Regions from separate parts of the Homo sapiens genome. Here all the other regions are linked to region 1. The links are contacts of gene promoters, found by promoter capture Hi-C in human tissues and cell types (Jung and others, 2019). All regions are on one chromosome and are shown on one strand. Each heading gives the region's core, a stretch centred on a gene start or on the middle of the fragment in contact. The rest is flanking DNA. Distances are from core to core; before and after follow the strand shown. Region 1 holds the start of SCMH1 (Scm polycomb group protein homolog 1). Region 2 overlaps EDN2 (endothelin 2). Region 3 has its middle 32 kb from the start of FOXO6-AS1.

Region 1 (3,779 bases), core at 678-3,177:
CAAGAGTTTAGGAGGTTGGTAAGTAAGCAACAAAAAGTGTTCTCTTTCATAGTAATTTTGGGCCTCCTGCTGGCAGTTAGAACTAGAGCAAAGAGTTCAATGTAATAAAGCATTTCCCTCTGCAACCAAATATTAAAATTGCAGTTTGGCACTAAACTAGGTCTCAATCCTTTTCAGAGTTTAAAAAAAAAAAAAGAGCTATTCTATTTGCCTGGCACATTACACTTCAACAAAACATTTTGATGTACATTAGTTAGCAACATTTGATAAAGTGTTTATAGACATTTTTTAAAAGGAAGGAAACCCCCAAATTTCCACAAAATAAGATGTCTTTTAGTTTGTTTGAACAAACACTACTAAATGTTTTCTTTTTTTTTTTTTTTTAAGTTCAAAATACAGTACAGAAATGAGGAAGGGAATCTAGAGTACTTTTGATTTAAGCAGGTCAATCCTTGGGGCTGTTTCTTAGAGAAACTTACTACGTTTTGTCTCCAGGATCACTTTTAAGAAACTCTCCTTTAAGGGGATGGGGGAAACTAAAGCTCATCCAGAGGACAGTTTAGAGAACCACAGCAGATGAGAGACAACTGAAGAAAGTGGAAGTGAAGACTCAGGGGACATGATTACTATCTTCAGATATCTTAACAGCTTCCCATAAGGGAAAAGAACTAGGAAGGATGGGAGCCAGCTGTTTCTTTCAACTTATAACCAAATGTGTCCAGGAACAGAATGGGTTTCCTTTAAAGAGATTCGCTTCGGATCACTGGAAGAGGTTCCAAACGGGCTCGTCAAATTATCGGGGGGATTTGGGGATTTTCAAAGTCACTTTGGCATGGGATGGGAGAAAGCGCCCCTAGATGACTTTTAAATTCTCTTCCAGTCAGGAGATATTCCGGGGTTCACCCATCGGCTGGATACCACTTTCGATGCTCTCGGGCTGGCACACAACTGTGCCCACGTGTCTGGCCCCCAGGGCCGCTGTGGCTCACTTCGGTGCGGGGCCGCTCTCCCTGCCCGTTTCCGGCGGGGCACTGGGGCAGGCGGCACACGTGAGTCGGCCAGCCGGGGCCCAGCCCCCAGGACGCTGCTGACAGCTCCGGGCCCTAGGCGCCCCAGCTCTCGGTGGGGGCCACGCCGCCCCGTCGACCTCTGTCTCTGCCTTCCCCGAACCGGGACCCGGCCAGCCAGAATCACAGGCATTCCCACCTCTGGCGCCGGAGGGGACCGACTGACCCGCGCAGACGGGGTCGCGCCGCCGCCCGGCCCTCGGCCCCCAGCCAGCCTGCCCCGGCCCACCCGGCCCCGCCGGCCAGACACGGCGACCTATACGGACCGCCCCCACGCCGACCCTCCAAAGGGCCCCCGGCCTTGGGTTTCCCGTGCCGGGGCCCCCGGGCAGTCCTGGCGGCGTCAGGGCCGCGACCGGACCGTGGGCCCCGCCCGCCCGACCGCAGATGCAGAGCCGGCCTCCGGGCTCGGGGCCGGGCTGACACGGCCGAGAAAGGGCCCAGCCCCGCGCGGACCACAGACTGGCAGGCCGGCCAGACAGACGGACAGGCTGACCCCGGCCCGGGGGAGCAGGCGCAGCGGCTGCGCAGGTCCCGCCACCGCCTTCTGGCCCCAGGCGGCCCCTCAGGGCACGAGCTCTTAGGCGGGCGGAGGCGGCCGCGAGGCGCTTACCTGAGGGCGCGGCGGGGGCGCGGGGCGGCTCACTCTCTTCCCGCCGCCATGTTTCCGCTGCGCAGGGAGGGAGCGGAGACGCGGGAAGGGGGCGGGCGGGCGGCTCGGGAGAGCGGCGGGCGGGCGGCGGGGGGCTCCACCGAGCTGGCGGTGGCGGCTGAGGCGGGGGGCGGGGCGGGGGCTCCCCCGGCCCCTCCCCCGCGCCTCCCGCTGCGAGGTGGCGCGCGCCTCGGCCGTTGGGCTCGCGCGGGGGGCGGGGCGGCGCGCTGGAGGAGGGAGGGCGCGCGGGAACCCGGCCCGGCCGTACCCCGCCGGCCTGCCGACCCGGGTCCGGGGGCCCAGTTGGCGCCCGGACCAGCTCTCCGGTCTGCGTCCTGTAGATGGGAAAACTGAGGCCTGAGAGGGCGCGAGGGCGGGGACGAGGCCGAGGACTCGGGTTCGAATCTCGAGGACGCCAGTAGCCCGCTCTGAGGCCGCGTGGGGCTGGTGGAGGAGCCACCGGTCGGGCCCCCAAGACCGGCTGACGTGGGCCTCGCCTCGGGCGACTCCCGCCGGGCTAGTGGCTGGCCGTGTGGTGACCTTGGGCGAGTTACTTCGCACAGCCACCCAGGGGCCTCTTCTCCAACACGATAGCACTGCACCCGGAGGGTAGGTGAGAGATGAGTTGGTGCTTGGATGCCCTAGGGAGTGTCAGCGTCCTCGGTCCTCCCTGTGGTGATCCCTTCAACGAGTACGCACTGAGCCCGTGATGGGCCAGGTACAATGCACAGGCTCATTCTTCCAGGCCCACCAGCCATGTTGGCTACACAATTCTATTTTTGTTTTGTTAGAGATGGAGCCTCACTTTGTCCCCAAGGTCGGAGTGCAGTGGCGCCATCATAGCTCACTGTAACCTCAAATTACTGGGCTCAAGTGATCCTCCTGCGTCAGCCTCCCAAAGCGCTGGGACTACAGGCGTGAGCCACTGCGCCTGGCACACAATTGGTTTAACCACCACATCATTTTAGCAGCTTAGGAAACTGACGTCTTGACTTCTGTTTTGGCTGCTTGAAAATACAGTGCAATATAAATCCCGAGACCTCTGCTGAGCTGGATGTGGAGTGGGTGTGGGCATCATTTAGAACATGGCAATCCTCAGGTCACACAGGAATGTCTTGTTAATGATCCTTCTGTGAACAATGTTCCTTGGAGGGAAGTCCACTTAAGCAAGGCTGGAGCAGCAGATGGGGCAGCTGAGCCTGGATTACTTGCCTTGCCTCTAGAATAGGTCTTAGAGCTTTGGACTGAAGGGGGGCCGCCTCCTTGTATCCTGGTATTGGTGTCAGTATCCGTCTGCCCATTCTTGAGAAATGGAAATGGTCAGAATCTATCCAGGTTCTGATCTGCATCCCTGTTGTCTAATTTAAACTTTCATTCCATGGCGTTTTGGGGAGTACCTGTCTCATGAAGAGCCCTGAGGTTACAAGGATAATTAGAGCCTAAATCTAAGGAGCCCATATTTGGGGAAACTATTATGTCAATAGCTAATGAGAGCACAGTGTTGTAAGTGCTCATATTAGTTTTCTATTCCTGCATAACAAATTGGCACAAATTTTGCAGCTTAAAGCAACACCCATTGATTTACTCACAGTTGTGTAGGTCGGAAAACTGGCATGGTGTGGCTGGGTTTTCTGCTCGTGGTGTCATAGGCTGAAATCAAGATGTCTAGCACCTCCACGAGGGAAAGGTCTGCCCCAGGCTCCTTCGGGCTGTTGGCAGAATTCATGTCCCTGTAGGACTAGGATCCCACAGCTACACTGTTTTGCCAGCTCTCTGTTGGGGACCACTCTCAGGTCCTTGCCACGTGATCCCTTTTATCTCATCAACAGAGAACCTTTCTCATGTCACTCCCTCTCATTCTTTAAATATCTCTGATTTCCCTTCTTCAACCAGTCAGAGAACACTATGAGCTTTTAAAAGACTTGTAATTAGGTCAGACCCACCTAGATAATCTTCCTACTTTAAGATCACCTGTGCCACATCACATACCCTAATCACAGGAGTAAAATTCATCATAGCCACTGTCCCAGGGACTATGCAGAAGGTGTACATGAAGGTTA
Region 2 (3,779 bases), core at 740-3,239, 240 kb after region 1:
AGCGAGGCTCCCCTGGCATCAAGCTCAGCTGAAACGTGAGAGGTGCGCTCTGGCCCTGGGCTGGAGTAGGCAACAAGTGCCTGGGCTGACCCCGTGACACCAGCCTCATCACCAGGATGCGCGGAGGATCCCTAAGGACTTATGATGACTGCTTCTCTGCCACTGGTCTCCTCATTCACTCAGCTCTGGCCAGCCCTCTGTGGCATATTTCCAAAGCTCAGCTCTGCCGAGGTCCCCTGCTGCTCACAGAGCTTTGTGGCTTCCTGTGGCCCACAAGGGGAAGTCGAGGCTCCTAACCTTGACCTTCAAGGCCTCTCTGGCTTTGTGTCCTGCTGCTGCCCCCTTGCCATGGTCCAGACACCTGAGGCCCCTCCTAAGGAAGCTTCTTTGTTACTCCCACTTCCATACTTTCATCCTCCCCGCTCCCTCTGCCTGGAATTCCCTCCCTATTTTCTTTCTATGTATTCAAGTCATTTGAGTGTTTCTTTTTCTTTTTCTTTTAAGCCAGGTCCTCCCTGTGGTGCCCAGGCTGCAGTGCAGTGGCACGACCATAGTTCACTGTAGCCTCGAGCTCCTGGGCTCAAGCAATCCTCTGGCCTCAGCCTCCTGAGTAGCTGGGACCACAGGTGTGCACCACCTCACCCAGCTAATTAAAAACATTTTTTTTTTTTTGTAGATACAGGGTCTCCCTATATTGCCCAGGCTGGTCTTGAACTGCTGGAGTCAAGTCATCCTCCCACCTTGGCCTCTTAAAGTGCTGGGATTATAGTCGTGAGTTGCCACCCCTGGCCTCTTTTGAGTCTTTCTATTTATTTTGCATATCTTTTGAGGCCACAAGAGTAGCACCTTTGTCCAGACTCTTCCTATGACCACCCACCTCCACCCCAGCTAGCCCCCATCTTGCCCCCCCATCAGGCCCCTTAGTTCTGTCCCCGTCCCACTCATTCCATAATCACCATTGCCAGCCCCACAAGCAGCCTCTGCCTCTTGTCAGGCCTTGGGCTGAGCCTGGTACCATCACTTCTCTGCTTAGTGCCCACAGCAACTCTGCGACGTGGGGACAATTGCTTCCCATTTTCTAGATGAAGAAAACTGAGGTTCAGAAACTGAAAGAGATTTGTTCAACATCATACTGCAGTGGTGACTCATGAATTCAATCAGCAAGTATTTATCATGTCCAAAGCCCAAGGTGAGGGGCCAAGCCAGGGCCAAGCTGTGGCTCCATCACAGCACCCCTCACTGACCAGTGGGGCACCCACAGCCTTGGGGTTCACCTGGTCTTCTCCCTCGCTGGACAGCTTTGCTCTGAGCCTTACTGTCAGCCTCTGCTGGGACAGAGCCGCTGGGGCGATGAGTCCCTCCACCCTCGTGTCTTGGCTTCTTCCACACACGCTCCTGGAAAAGGGATGGCCGTTGATTACTGGCCTGATGAGAACATAGCTCCTGGAATCCTGACGTCACAGCTGCAGGTGGCTGTCGAGGCACATGACAGACAAAAGCCCAGAGAGGGCAGGCTAGCAGCCAGAGACACCCAGCAAGGGTGGGAGTGGAACCCAGCGCTCTAGCCACCTGCCCCAGCCCTTTCCTTCTTGTGTCCTCCAACTTCCAAGCGGCCCCTTCTTGAGAGAAGCCTCCAACACCCTGCCTTGGCCAAGACAAAAAACCAGAGTATGTTTCCTCATTTATTATAAACACAAGTTCGCAGGTAAATAGAGGGTCTAAAAAATACATTAAAATAAATAATTGGGATTCTCAAAGTTCTTAGGGCAAATAAGTTATATACAGACAGGAAAAGCAGAGCAGGCCCTTCTCACTGGGAGGGTCCCGAGGGAATGAGGGTGCAAGAACTCTGGGGAGGGAAAGCTGGAGAGGACACAGCCAGCCAGGATGCCAGCCTCAGGGGAGCCATCCAGCCTCCAGGGCTGGCTGAGGCATGCGTGTTCGTGGCTGCACGGTTGCTCCTGGTTTGTAGCCCAGCAGACAGGACACTCCTCAGGACGCAGCCTCCAGATGAATGTACTCCCCATGCAGTTCTTCCAGCAGAGCTGTGGGCCAGCAGCCAGCACTGGAGGCTGCTCCGCAGTCTGGAGGCCGAGGGCTTCCCTGGGCAGTGCGAGGACACAGAACTGCCTTGGACGAGGCTCCCTCACCAGGGAGCTTGTGCCAATCCTGGCAAATGGGTCCAGCTGTCTGGGACCAAGGCCCCGGTCCAGGAAGCAGGCAGAGAGTCCACAAGCCCTGGCCACTTCTCTCCTCCTCTCTCCCCGCGGGCTTCCTTCCCAATGTTCCTCCAGCTCACGACACTATCTCTTCCTCCACCTGGAATGTGTGGACCGAGGCTCCCGCATGGCCTCCTGTTGTCGCTTGGCAAAGAGGCTCTTGACTGTGGAAATGTCCCTGGGAATCAAGAAGGGTCAACTTAGCATCTCAGGAGATATGGACTGTCCAAGAGCTCCCCATGAGAGCAGGGGCAATGGGGCTACAGCCCTTGCCCAGATCCTGGGGTCACAGCGGCCCTGGGGTCAGACAGTGACCACAGCCTGAAAACAAGGTCTGCACAACCAGCGCAGGCCAGCCCAGGCGTTGAAGCTTCTCTGCACATGGGGGCTTTGACAGAGCTAAGGTTCAACATCAAATGCTGCCAGAATGAGTGGACAGCCAAGCACAGCCCTGTGGGTCTCCCGTCATCTGCCTTCCCACTTCTTTCCACAGCTTTCCACACCTTTGCTCCTGCTCTTCCCTCCAGGCTGTGTGTATTCCCCTCACCCAGAAGCCACCTGCTACAATTCTACTCATTCTTCGAGGTCCAGTTCAAGGTAGTCCAGCCCAGAAAACAGGGCACCCCGCTGCCCTTTGAACCTGGCTGGGTGGCCACATCCTGGCTCAAAGAACTCTAAACTGGGAGCCAGGAGGCTGGCTTCAGTTCCTAGCTAAGGAAACTTGGGCAACAATCTCAGCCTCTCTGATCCCCTTTCTTAGCTTGTAAAACAAAAACAGGCCTGAACTGCTGAGAATGAGTACAAGGTTGGCCGAGCCAGCTCTGCACACTATGAAGTGTGCGCTTTTGAAAAGTCTTGTACTCATATTTTTCATTCTCAGAAAGTTCCTAAGTATATGTTGGGTCCCGTCCATCCCACCATCCTGCCTTTTCTCCTGTTTTTCTGCCGCCCCCAAAAGGTGAGAATCTCTGAAGGGCTGAGCTGGGCCCTGGGACCTGGCCAGCTGTGAGGAACCCTCAGTGACAGAAGTGGGAATGGCAAACCCCTCCACAGCTCCCACGGGCACAGACCCTGGTCTACACACTTCATGTGCGTCCACTCATCTGACCTCACAGCAACCCCAGGCGGGGATGGATGGCACAATTTCCCTGTTTCTCCTGTTCAAATCATAGGAACTAGAGGCACAGTGAAGTTGAGGGGCAAACCCAAGGTCACAAAGCTTGTACCAGGCTGGGCTGGGGTTCAGATCAAGCAGTCTGCCCCAGAGGCTGCCCCTACAGCCACTCTGCTGCCCGGCAGGTGCAAGTGTCTGTTCTTGAGTTGGTTTGGTTGAACAAGCATTCGTGGGCACCTCCTGGGGGCCAGGTCTGACTCACACTGAGGCACCAGGGAGGAGATGCAATCTGGGCAGCAGAGAGGGAGCAGGCTGGGCAGTTGGCCCCTCTGGACCCCAGCATGTGTGAGATGCTCCATTCAGCACAGCCTGAACGAACAACTGTGGTCCTTCCCAGTCATGAGCCTTCAAACCCTCTAAAAAGTCCACTTCCAGGCCTAGTGGTA
Region 3 (3,779 bases), core at 482-2,981, 170 kb after region 1:
TGAGATTGGAAATTCTAACTCATCAAAATGAAATTGACAGTGCCTGAGAGTGCCCAGAAAAATGATGGGATCTGCCCCAGGAGCAGGACCCACAAGAGCAAGCTGTGAAGAAGCATCTTGGGCGGTGCTGAGGAAGAATCAAGGGGCTTTCCCATCTGGCCCTATTAGGGCCAGCCATTCCCGTAAGCTGGTCCCTTCGGTGGGTGTCCTGAAGAGGTGGCGATTTAACCCCTTTCCAGGCCCCTCGCCCTCCCGCTACTCCTCGCCTGTTTCCTCCCAGGACTGAGCCTAAACTAGGAGGGATCCTGGGGTGGCTGCCTCTCCCCTTCCACTGCCCCCCACAGGGCTCCTTTCGGCTCCCTCCCTGCTCCTCCATCCAGCCCCCAAATCCCCCAGCCACTCCTCCACTGGCCCTAGGTGGCTCTCCCTTTTTCCTCTTCTCCCCCTGCCCACTCTAGAGCTGATTTTGGCTTCTTGGACCTGAGTTCACCTTCGAAGTTGGGGCAGGCTGGGTCCCGTATTCACAAATGGACCAATATATCTAATGGTCCAATAGCCTCTGTTACAGATAGGGAGATTGAGGCCCAGGAAAGCAAGTGAACTTCCTAAGGCGATGCTGCAGCTATACTCCTGGCAGAGGCGGGTTAGAATCTAGGCCTTCAGCTCTTCTCCTGGGCTCAGCGGAGTATCTGGGGCTCCCTGGGAGAGATGGCTGGGCCAAGTCTTGGACAGATCCCACTCGCCACCCCTCCCTGCCTTGCAAAAGCACATCCAGAAAAATCATAGAGGACAGAGGGCTAGAAAGATCCCTTCCCAGGGGGCCTCAGGCTCCGTCGGCATTGGCAGAGATGTCAGCACCTGGCAGTCACCTACGCCCCATGCCCAGCCCTGAGGTTCAGTGGGCCACTGAGACCCTTGGGGAGCTGGCTGTCAGAGCAGCTTCTGCCAAGGGCTTCCGCAGTGCCTACTGCTGTGGACTCCAACCAGGTGGGGTTTAAAAGCACAATTCCTGGAGTTAGATCTGAGTTCAAGTCCTGTCTCTACTGGTTAGAGTTGTACCTCCGTGGGCAAATCATGCCACCTCTCTGAGCCCTGTTGTCTCACAGAAAGGAACAAGGCACTGGGATTCAGTAGTGAGGATAATGAACTGATGCACCCCAGGCAAGTATCCCAATGTCTGGCTTTCCAGGCATCTTCTAGTCCCCTGAAAGAGCTCTGTCATGGCAGACTTTCCTTGTGAACAGTATGGTGGAGATCCAGGGTTGTGGCTCCATCCATCCTTCTCATGTTCACCCTGCATGGAGCCCCCAGGGTCAACCCATCTATTTTAAAACTTCTTTTCCTCCCTCTGTCCCACCATTTCCATCCATTTTATCCCCCTCTCCCTTTTTCAGAAATGACATAATTAGAGGGGTTTAATGTTCTGCTGCTGAAATCTTCATTTTCTTGGGTAATTTCCACTATTTCATCAAGGAATAATTAATTGCATTGTCTTTAATCAATTGTTTGACAAATCCAGCAGCGGGAGGAATTCTCCCACCATCCCCGCAGCTGCTCTCCCCTCCTGGGTGAGGCGCCAGCTCATGCCAACAGGAGCGCTTGGCTGCCAGCGCTGGGGTGGGTGAGTGTAGAGGAGGGGCCCCCAGTTTCCCCAGCCTCCTGTGGGGGAGGGGAGCCCAGGCAGCCAGGAATCCACCCAGCAGCCACACGGGGAGCACCCAGCTGAGCTCAACTGTGAGCTCGGCCTCCTCAAAGCCCAGTCAGGTCGGCGGCGGTGGGGGGTGGGGGGATAGATCCCATTTAGCAGATGCAGAAGCTGAGGCTTGAGGAGGATCACAGGGACTGAGAGATGGAGAGGGACTCAGGTCTCTCGGGCTCTGAGACGCAAGACAGGGAAGATAAGATCCAAAACTGAATCTTAGAGATGGAGGCTGGTTACCAGTAACTGGTAACCGGGAGAGAGGAAAGAGGAGAAGGGAAGGACGTCCCCAGGCAGAGGGGGAAAGTGATAGTAGTAATAGCGAATGTTTTTATGGTACTCATGAAATGGCAGGTCCTGTTCTAAGTATTTTATCATCTCAATAACCCTGGGAGGTGGCCCCTCTTATAACCCCCGACTTACAGGTGAGGAAGCTGAGGCTCACAGAGGTTAAGTGATGTGCCCAAGGTCACACAACTAGTGAGGGGCGTAGCAGTTGTGCATTTATTCACGAACAGTGCTGCTTCCCCCAGCCACCCTGTGACAACAGACGAATCCTATTTCACTCGTGGAAAGCCCAGCCCCACTGTGGCCAACCACGTGCCCTCATGATCTCCCCTTCAAATGCCTCTTTCTCCTGTCCTTCCCACTGGCCCATTGCTCCAGCCTACTGATCTCCTTACTCTCCGCCCGCCCCAGGGCACTTGCTCCTCCTTCCAGGCTCTTCTTACAGGATTGCTCCCTGACTTTATTTACATATCTGCTCCAATGTCACCTTCCCAGGGGGACTCAGCCAGGCCCTCATCTCAATAAGTATCAGCCCTCCCTCTCCTTACGCTATTTTATTTGTCTTCCTGGTACTGATTCATGAATCTATCCATGGTGGGCGTTAGTGCTTTCTGCCAAATACGTCCTGCTCCCTATCTTCTGGGTATGAGTAGGACTGTACTTTCCCTCCCCTCAGAGATGAGTGTGACTTGTGATGGAAAGTGAAATAGGACAGACGTGTCCTGTATCATTTCCAGGGCTTCGGATGGGGCTTTTGGAACGATTGGGCCATTTGCCTTGTTCCCTGTTGTGGAAGTTGGGGATGGAGCCTCCTTCAGCCTGGGCCCTTAAATGAAGACAACATAGAGCAGACTCCCCTGCGGGGAACCCCCAAAGGGCATGCAATGTGAGCGAGAAACAATTTTTCATGGCTTTACACCACTGATCAAAAACATTGCCCATCTGACTGATCCATTACTTAATACATTCTCATTCATTTTTCTTTCTCCGTGAGAACAGGGGCTTTGCTGTGTTAGCCACCCTATCCCCAGTTCCTAGAGCATGGCCTGGCATGCAGTAGGTGACCAGTAGATATTTGTTGAATGAATGAATGAATGAAGATCATGTTCTCTTGTGCAGGACTTTGGCATTTACCAAGTTCCTACATCTATATTACTTTATCTTCCCTCCAGCACCATGATGTAAGAAATACTTCCATTTTATAGATTCTGGAGCTGAAACCCAGAGGGGTTAGTTGAGCTGTTCCTTGACATGCAGCTAATAGTGGAGGGACTTGAATCCACATGTCTTAGTTCACTGCTCCCCCTCCTGCCCCCATCCGTAAGGGGCCTGAGCTATTCCTGCATCCCCACCCGTACAGTGGTACTCTTCCCTTTTTCCCTTACACCAGGCATTTGGCCTCTGGTGGGAGTGTGTGGGAAGGGGTGTTTCCTTCATGTAGAACCCATAGGTCCAGAGTCTACCCCTTTCTCCTCCCTTGTGGAGTTACCTGCCCATGCATGGGGTCACCTGCCTGTAGGATTGCTCTGTTGATGAACATTTCACCCAATTGAACAACCCCTTCCCTTCCATCTCTTATCCCTGCACCTCTCATACCTGGAGTACAGCAGAGAATGGGAGGGTATGCAGAGCCCCTGCGCTCACGCCACGCTCCCCATGGGAAAGGCACTCCCAGATCTAAGTCCGGAATCATAACCCTTCCTTTCCACATGGCTCCATGAACTCGGTTATCTGGTGTTCCTGCCTCCAGTGGGTCAGGAATAATAATTAGAAGGATAAAGTGGGAACAAAC

What was found. Contacts are between HindIII fragments. The study calls those that stand out against the background at their distance.
Region 2: a fragment that was not itself captured here is called in contact with the fragment with the promoter of SCMH1 in region 1 in 2 of the 25 tissues and cell types used here (aorta and lymphoblastoid cells).
Region 3: a fragment that was not itself captured here is called in contact with the fragment with the promoter of SCMH1 in region 1 in 1 of the 25 tissues and cell types used here (stomach).

The regions. Positions count from the first base shown.
Region 1 is chr1:41,240,379-41,244,157 of GRCh38, forward strand. SCMH1 (Scm polycomb group protein homolog 1) reads right to left here and starts at 1,928. Exons shown (of 16, transcript NM_001394311.1): 1 at 1,681-1,928. SCMH1-DT (SCMH1 divergent transcript) reads left to right here and starts at 1,980. Exons shown (of 3, transcript NR_186015.1): 1 at 1,980-2,328. RefSeq lists an enhancer at 489-668 and silencers at 989-1,148, 1,249-1,798, 1,839-2,238. The HindIII fragment of the contact is 24,810 bases long and covers 1-3,779 here.
Region 2 is chr1:41,477,106-41,480,884 of GRCh38, forward strand. It overlaps EDN2 (endothelin 2), which reads right to left. Exons shown (of 5, transcript NM_001956.5): 5 at 1,670-2,397. The coding sequence ends at 2,304. Among named protein-coding and RNA genes, the nearest start is that of EDN2, 5.7 kb to the right of the region's middle. RefSeq lists an enhancer at 1-533. The HindIII fragment of the contact is 4,199 bases long and covers 1-3,779 here.
Region 3 is chr1:41,406,261-41,410,039 of GRCh38, forward strand. No RefSeq gene overlaps it. Among named protein-coding and RNA genes, the nearest start is that of FOXO6-AS1, 32 kb to the left of the region's middle. The HindIII fragment of the contact is 5,293 bases long and covers 1-3,779 here.